Linked DNA regions of Homo sapiens: regions 1 and 2 are each linked to region 3. The links are contacts of gene promoters, found by promoter capture Hi-C in human tissues and cell types (Jung and others, 2019). All regions are on one chromosome and are shown on one strand. Each heading gives the region's core, a stretch centred on a gene start or on the middle of the fragment in contact. The rest is flanking DNA. Distances are from core to core; before and after follow the strand shown.

The links. Contacts are between HindIII fragments. The study calls those that stand out against the background at their distance.
Region 1: a contact is called between a fragment that was not itself captured here and the fragment with the promoter of GPR3 in region 3, in 3 of the 25 tissues and cell types used here (liver, mesenchymal stem cells and spleen).
Region 2: a contact is called between a fragment that was not itself captured here and the fragment with the promoter of GPR3 in region 3, in 3 of the 25 tissues and cell types used here (dorsolateral prefrontal cortex, hippocampus and lymphoblastoid cells).

The regions. Positions count from the first base shown.
Region 1 is chr1:27,126,731-27,129,436 of GRCh38, reverse strand. The region is part of intron 1 of SLC9A1 (solute carrier family 9 member A1); the gene reads left to right. Among named protein-coding and RNA genes, the nearest start is that of SLC9A1, 27 kb to the left of the region's middle. The HindIII fragment of the contact is 6,234 bases long and covers 1-2,706 here.
Region 2 is chr1:27,760,624-27,763,323 of GRCh38, reverse strand. FAM76A (family with sequence similarity 76 member A) reads right to left here. Exons shown (of 9, transcript NM_152660.3): 9 at 208-2,700. Among named protein-coding and RNA genes, the nearest start is that of STX12, 11 kb to the left of the region's middle. The HindIII fragment of the contact is 6,157 bases long and covers 1-2,700 here.
Region 3 is chr1:27,391,187-27,393,886 of GRCh38, reverse strand. GPR3 (G protein-coupled receptor 3) reads right to left here and starts at 1,265. Exons shown (of 2, transcript NM_005281.4): 1 at 1,150-1,265; 2 at 1-93. The coding sequence starts at 88. RefSeq lists enhancers at 503-1,038, 1,576-2,112, 2,113-2,649 and a silencer at 1,062-1,561. The HindIII fragment of the contact is 10,052 bases long and covers 1-2,700 here.

The sequences.
Region 1 (2,706 bases), core at 75-2,574, 260 kb after region 3:
AAAGGGCAGCCTCCTCTGAGCATGCTCAGTTCTCCTATCCACTCTACATCTCGTGGCTCCTAGAGGCCTGAAGTGACAAACTATCCCCAGTGTGGTGGGAGAGGAGGCAGGGAGAGGCCCTCCAAGCATGCCCTGTCTCTCCCACCACACAGAGCCCAGCCAGCTGGATCGTTATCAGAAGTGTATGGGAGACCCTTAGGGGACCCCCTTGAGATAGAGGATCCAGTATCAGGAAAGCTCACCCATCTTGCTGGTATTGTGCAGGAGGCAGTGCCTGCTGCCCATGGAGCCTTAATGCTGTGCAGTTGGACAGCTTCCCCCTCAGGTGCCTGTTTAGGAGAAGCTCTTGCCTCCCTAGTGCTGCCAGCTTGCCTCTGGGACCCTGCCGCTGCTGGTTTCTGGGAATCTAGATCTGCACGGGAGTGTCTGGCATGCGTGCGTGCGTGCATGCATTTGTTTGTTTGTTTGTTTGTTTGTTTATGGAGTTTCCCTCTTTTTGCCCAGGCTGGAGTGCAATGGCGTGAGGATCTCGGCTCACTGCAACCTCCACCTCCTGGGTTCAAGTGATTCTCCTGCCTCAGCCTCCCAAGTAGCTGGGATTACAGGCATGCACCACTACGCCCGGCTAATTTTGTATTTTTAATAGAGATGGGGTTTCACCATGTTGGCCAGGCTGGTCTCAAACTCCTGACCTCAGGTGATCCGCCCGCCTTGGCGTCTCAAAGTGCTGGGATTATAGGCATGAGCCACCACGCCTGGCCTTTTTTTTTTTTTTTTTTAAAGACAGGGTCTCACCCTGTTGCCCAGGATAGAGTGCAGTTGGCATGATCTCGGCTCACTGAAACCTCAACCTCCCGGGCTCAGGTGATCCTCCCACCTCAGCCTCCCTAGTAGCTGGGACTACAGGTATGCACCAGCCATGCCCAACTAATTTTTAAATTTTTTGTAGAGATGGGTTTTGCCACGTTACCCAGGCTGCTCTCAAACTCCTGGGCTCAAGTGATCCTCTCGCCTCGGCCTCCCCCGCTGCTGGGATTCAGGTGTGAGCCACCTCCCCTGGCCTGGGCATATATTTTTGTTTTTGCTTTTTTCTGAGTGTTTCTGTCTCTGTTCTCTCCTCTTACAGCAACGCTGTGCCATAGACATTCTTTATCCCAATGTTAGAAAGGAAGAAACTGAGGTTCAGGGCAGTACCGTGATTTGCCTTATTAGGTCACAGAGAAGTTAAGATTTAGAATTGGGACAGAAACTACCTCCCTCATTGATGGACCAGAGCTCTTTACGCTGCCCGCTGCTGCCTCGTGCAAGCTTGCTATGGCACGAATGCTATTCTGTACCCAGATGCCACAGTTGCTGGCATGGACAGAGATGGTGAGTATCACAGAGCCCGACTTTGTCCAGCTGCAGAGTTCATCAGTCAGATGTCAGAGGTAGAGAGGCTCTCAACAAGCCCCCAAGGATGGAGAGACTGAGACCAAAGAGAAGCAACGGCTTGTTCAAAGCCCACAGAATGTTAGTGGCTGAGTCTAGACTGAAGCCCAGTTCCCCTGATCCCCAGCCTGGGCTTGACTCAGGCCTTTCTTTTCTCAGAATTGTAGTTTTCTGGTCTTTTGAGGCATTTGGAGGTAGGATGGAGGGGGTGCTCACCCATCCTGCTGGTATTGTGCAGGAGGCAGTGCCAGCTGTCCCTGGAGCTGAGACTAAATGGCTGTGCATTTGGACAACTTTGCCCTATGCCAGGTGCTGAGCCTGGGTGGCCAGCGCTGTCTCCCTTGACCACCTCCCTGAAGTGGCAGAATTTCATGTTGTTCCCCAGGCCAGAGCCCTCCAGTGGCTCTGCCTGGCTCAGCAGGGTGATTGGGAATTCTCTCCCTGCAGGGTATTTGTGGCCTTTCATAACTGGCCTTGGCTGAGCGCTGGATTGGGAGTCAGTAGTTCTGGGTTTGGGACCTGCCTCCGCTGCTACCCATGTGATCTTGGGCCTGTGTCTGGACCTCTCTCAATGTCTGTTCTCTCATCTGTTGCCCACTGCCAGGGCATGTTGTGAGGGCGAGAGAAAAGTCTGCTTTACAGCATCTAAGTAATGATTTCCACTCCAGTCCACTGCCATTTGCTCCAATAGAAAGCCTCTACCTGGGCTGGGCTCAGTGGCTCACGCCTGTAATCTCAGCACTTTGGGAGGCAAAGCAGGCAGATCTCTTGAGCTCAGGAGTTTGAGACCAGCCTGGGCAACATGGCAAAACCCCTATCTCTACAAAAAATACAAAAACTAGCTAGGCATGGTGGCACGCGCCTGTAGTCCCAGTTACATGGGGGGCTGAGGTGAGAGAATCACTTGAGCCCAGGAAGTCAAGGCTGCAGTGAGCCATGTTCGTACCACTGCACTCCAGCCTGGGCAACACAGCCAGACTCTGTTTTCCCTGCCCCCTCCCCCCGCAAAAAATAAATCTTCTACCTGTACCACACTCGTTTCCCTGTCCTGTCTTTCCAGATGCTGCTGATTTGCCTGCCAGGCCTTCTTGGTGCCTAACTCTCACCCTTCCTTCAAGGAAAAGGCCAATTCAGCTGGAGCTTAGTGTCCATGTGCTTAGTGCCAAACACTGGAGATTAAGTTAAACCCAAAAATATATACACAAAAGGGAAGGAAAAAAAGTTAAACCAGACATGACTTCTGCCCTCAAACAGTTCTGCTAGCTCAACAAGTCT
Region 2 (2,700 bases), core at 128-2,627, 370 kb before region 3:
GTGAGACTCTGTCTCAAAACAGTCATAGAAGAGAGAAAGAAAGAGTTTATTCTCTAATGGACAGGAAATTCCCAATTAGCAGTTAGGCTTTTAATTTTTTAAGTCTATAAGCAAGACAAACTTTTCTAGGCTGAAGGGCTGAAGGGGATAACGGGGTATGTCTACTGGTAAACAGCAAGAAATAAAAACAAAATCCAACAATTACACTTGAGTCAATATGAATTTTTATTAACACACATTTGTCAAAGTCTGTACAAACCAAAACATTCCTGTGTTTTAAAATGTCCATTATTACAAACATACAAAGAAACAAAAGGTGTTACCAAAAGTTAGCTACTCAATTTCATGGTAAAACAGTGTCATGATTTTTAAAAATCAAAATTTCAAGACTGAGGTTTCTTCTTTCCCTTTTTGGAACTTATGGAAAGTTAGAAAACGTGTGAATTTGCTTTATATTAAATGCCAAGACCTTAAAAAAAGATTTAGTATAAAACTAAGTATGTTTTTATATTGTCATACATCATGTAACAGAATTTCAGTCCTTAAAATTAAAAAAAAACACCATGACTGTCATTTCCCCCTAATTTTTCTCCCATAGTCAATGCAAATGCATCTGAAAAATATTATGACAGTTTATCTTTACCTAAAAGCTTCTCATTCAAAAACTTTACAAAACTATTTAGCACTGCCATTTCCCTTGCTTAGAAGGGAAAATTATATCCCCTAGTAGGGTGATATATAAGCGACATGGTCCACTGTATCCCTTATCAGAAGGAAACCACCATTTCCACATCTCTGTCCAATTATGTGTAGGACTCCATTTATGAGAATGCTATCACAAATTATAGAGCATCTGCTTCCAGGAAACGCCTAGAAGTTAAATTTAGTACTATAATTTTTTGGTAGACTGAGGTACAAATGTTATCTGCCCTCATTATTATTTCTAACTCTAGTACCCCCTGCATAAATGATTCTAGGGTAGTTGGTTTTGTTGTTTCATGGCACACATGACACACCCTAATTCCTTTCACAAACATCACATAGAGGACCTGAGAGTATGCCTAGAAATGTAAATCTATCCCCTTTCCTGGAAAAGTAAATCCATATTCCTACAGGGTTAAGAAGGGAAGATAGGCAGGGCATACATAACTCTGGTTGAGGCAAAGTGCTTCTGAGAAGCACCTGTTTTCAATACATATCCATGAAAAGCAGGGAGTGTATGGGCTCGGGTGGGTGAGGAGTGGGGAGAAGGTATAGTGATACCACTTTTCCCAGACTCAAGAGTCCTTACTAGAGCAGCTCATGCTGACCCCAAAAATGCTCTGTAGTTCAAATATTATTCCTTTTTTTTTTTTTTTTGAGACGGAGTCTCACTCCATTGCCCAGGCTGCAGTGCAGTGTTGCGATTTCAGCTCATTGCAACCTCTGCCTCCCGGGATTCGAGCAGTTCTCCTGCCTCAGCCTCCTGGGTAGCTGGGATTACAGGTGCATGCCACCAGGCCCGGCTAATTTTTGTATTTTTTTAGTACAGATGGGGTTTTACCATGTTGGCCAGGATGGTCTCAAACTCCTAACCTCAAATGATCCACCCGCCTTGGCCTCCCAAATTGCTGGTATTACAGGCGTGAGCCACCGCACCCGACCATATTATTCCATTTTTAATCTGTTCATTCATGTAAAAAAACATTCTCTGACAGCAGCCCAGTATGACAACTGATATAAGCAAATAAAGGATTTTATTTTTTAAAGAAGTGGCAGTGTGAGAATTTAAAATCAATCACATAAAACAATCAGGAAAGGGGTGGGGAGAGAAGTGTCCAGTACAACCTGGACAACCTTGCTTTCTGCCCTTACTTAAAAAGACAGACGGTTCAAATCTTTGCTACCTCCCTTAAGTATCTCCATAAATGCTCTTCCAAGAAATCCTCCAAAAGGCACTTAGCTCCATACTTATGCATTGAATTGTTTCACCTTAGCAATCAGTTTTTAAGACTCCAAGGTAACAAGAAAGAAAAGATCTGATTCTTTTACTAAAAGCTAGTGAATAGGACTGTTTTTTTTTCAAGAGGCATCACTTTTACAAGAACTAGCTAGACCACCATTATTCCTTTATCAAGAAAAAGTTTCTTTTTTAAAAAATAAATAAAACTCTGGCTATACATAGTACAAAGTTCATACATAATACATCTGGAAAAAAACCGAAGAGTATACCCTGAAGCAAAAGGTTTATTGGAGAGAGAAAGCCTCTTCCATTATACCAAGTCTGAAGATGGCAGTTTTCAAAGTTCAGAGGGTGGCAGTGATATATAATTAATGCCAAACTGTTTGCTCATGGGTATGGCAGGATGCAATGAAGGACCAAAAAAAAAAAAAAAAACAAAAAACAAATCATTCTGCACATTACACTGAGCAGTGACCACCACAAAAAAAAAAAAAAAAAAAAAAAGAAAAAAGAAAAAAAAAGAATAGAACCAAAATAGAGAGAAGAGGAAGAAGAAAAAGAAAAGTCCTAATAGTGAGAGAAAGAGAGCGAGCTTGAAATCCCAAACACTCAAGCATGCAGTCTAACACAGCACAAACCAGGTGTTTCCATTCAGCCCACTGCAATCGCACAAAGAAGGATAACTGTAATAAAATAGAGATTTCTTAAGAAAGCTTGCAATTCCCACAGAACAGCCAGGTCTCCAACCCTAACCCTGG
Region 3 (2,700 bases), core at 16-2,515:
GCCCCTCTGCTGGGCCCACGCTGCTTACATTCACGTTGCCTGAGCCAGCTGAGAGCCAGGCCAGAGGGCTGCCTGCACCCCACATCATGGTACCTGCAGGAGAAAGGCCTTGTGAGAAGCTGACCAAGCTGGGTGATGGGAGTTGGGGTCTGGAGGGGGTGAGGTGCTTCTCAGGATACGTGGTGGGAGTCTCTCCTCAGGATACCTGATAGGGTCCCAATGCCTTATCCCCACATTCATGCCCTGGGGCTCTTCCCAGGATACCGCTGTCCCCTCCAATGCCCCCAGGCCTCTAAACAGGGGTCTCTTCCTGGGGATCCCTGTCCTAGGTCCTGCAGGTCTCTTTTTCCCACGTGTGTGACCAGAGGAGAGACAGAAGAAGGGGTACTATAAGTGGAAGAGGGCCATAGGATCCAGGGGATGCCCCCGAAGGCTCAAGATTGGGGTAGGGAAACATCTACCCCATCAGGGAGACTGAGCAGCTCCGCTCCCTCCCATCAGAGATGATGATGCTAGCTCGTGCCTGAGGCTCCCAGACCCCTCACGATTTTCAGTACTGCCAGCCTTAGACTCCGCCCCCAGGGAATGCGCGTGAAGCTCCCGCCAGCCATCACCCCGCACTCCCGCGGTAACACCTGGGAACTCAGCCCCCCACCCCCCACCCTCCCAGACTTCTGTTCCTGGCTGGACCCTTCTTTCCGCCTGAATCTCTAGGTCTCTGGGCAGACCCCCCTGCTGGAAGACTGGATCCCTGAGTCAGATGCCTCCTTCTGCCCGGACACCTGGATTTTGGGCCTGACTCTGCCTCCTGCCTGGATACCTGGATTCCTAAATTGGACACCTCCTGCTGTTCGGACCCCTGGGTCCCTGCCCCAGACGCCTCCTGCCGGCTTAACCTCAGATGACCATCAGTCCCTCCAGGGCCTCGGGTCCCTGCAGGAATGCTTACCCTTCGCCGGGTCATCCAACTCAACCCCAGCACTCGAGCACTTGGGCCCAAGCCTGCTAACCCAGAATCGCCTAAACCCAGAATTCCCACCTCGAACTCGAACCCCGGCCGGCCACTAGGAGCCTTCCGCCGGCCCAGTGCCCCAGCATCCTGCGTGCCCTTCAGGACCCCTGGTGCCCGCGGCGGGGCCCGCTACTCACCGCTCAGGACCAGGCGCGGCCGGGCCGCGGGGAGGCTCCGCTCGGGTCCTGGCGGCGCAGGGCGTGCGTGGACCCCGAGAAGCCCCCGCGGCCGCGGGAGAAGCGGCGTGAGTCACCCCGCCCCGCCCCCGGCCACCGGTTCGGTGACGTCAGCGGTCCGATCAGCCAATGGGCGCGGCGCGCTGGGGCGCAGCGCGCGTTGCGCGGCATAGTAATAAGGCCTCGCACCGCCCGCTCCCCCATTCATAAAAAGCGACCGTGGCTGCGGCCCCGCCCCCTCCCGAGTCCGCCCGCGCTGTCCTTGACGCGGCGCCCTCTGCGGGCCGGGGGTTTCAGAGGCGCCGGTGCGAGAGCCTTGAAGTCTCAGAGAGGCTGCAGGGAACGTGGTGGAAGAGTGGAAAGGGGGCCCGGCTAGGCTGTGGGGTGATGGGACCCTTGGGTGGCAGAGAGGCTGACGAGATCCAGGTGACGAAGGAAGAGCTTGTGATGGGGCTGGTTGGGCTTCCCTGGTGAGAATGACAGGGTTTCCAAGATGATGGGGCCCTGAGGTGACGATGACAGGGAGCACGAGGGAGCGGGGAGGTGGGTGGCAGTGACGACATTAGCATGGTGACAGAATCTTGGGGTGGGGGGTGATGGCCGTGGGACGCTAACGGTAGAGGGGAAGCCCTCAGGGCAACCATGGCAGTGTCAGGGTGACTATGCAGCAGGGGGGAGTTCAGGGACCCCGGGATGGCAGAGGCAGCGGCCTGGGAACATGGAGTGTCCAGGTGACTTCAGGTCACCATTACCCTGTCAGAATGGCTGGGGTACTGAAGCGACAATGCTAAGCCATGAGGACTGTGGGGCCCTGGAACGAAGATAGCAGGTGGCTGTGGTGAGTGGGCTCCAGGGTGAGGGGCACAGGGTAGAGGGTCTGGACTGACAGTGACCAGGCAGGTAAGTTGCTGCCAGGGCAAGTCCCGTGATGCCGGGGCTGGGATAAGAGCTGGGTGACGTCACTCATGTCAGCCCAATAGCGCCCTCACAGCACCGGAGGGGTGGGCCTGGCAAGATTTCAAAACCTGAATTATTTATTCCAGTATCTAGAAAGCCAGCGTGGAGGGGGTGAGGGGTGCACTTCCCTGAAGCAGGAGGAGATGGGGAGCCGGGAAGAACTTGGAAGCAGAAAGCCTGGCAGCTCAGTCCTCAGGGCAGGCCCCTCTCAGCCTCCTATTTTAGGCATCCTGATGGGTGGAGCAAGGAGAAAGAGCTCCCTCTTCCCCAACGCCATCTGCCCTTAGTCCAGGGGAACCACTCTGGGCAGACTTCTCCAGATGTGACAGATGTGGCCAGTCCTGCGGCAGGGGGACTGGCTGCTCCTTCTCCCTGTGTCTCTTGCCTTGATGCTCCCTGGAATCATGCAGGCCTGTGGGAGGGGAAGATGAGGTTAAGAGGCCTGAGGATCCCAGGCCCCACTGGACACCCCCATCACAGCACCATCACTGCAGCCCCCATGGTCAGCCTCCACCAGGCAGGTTTTGGGTTTGAGTGTGAGGCAGCAGAAGGTCA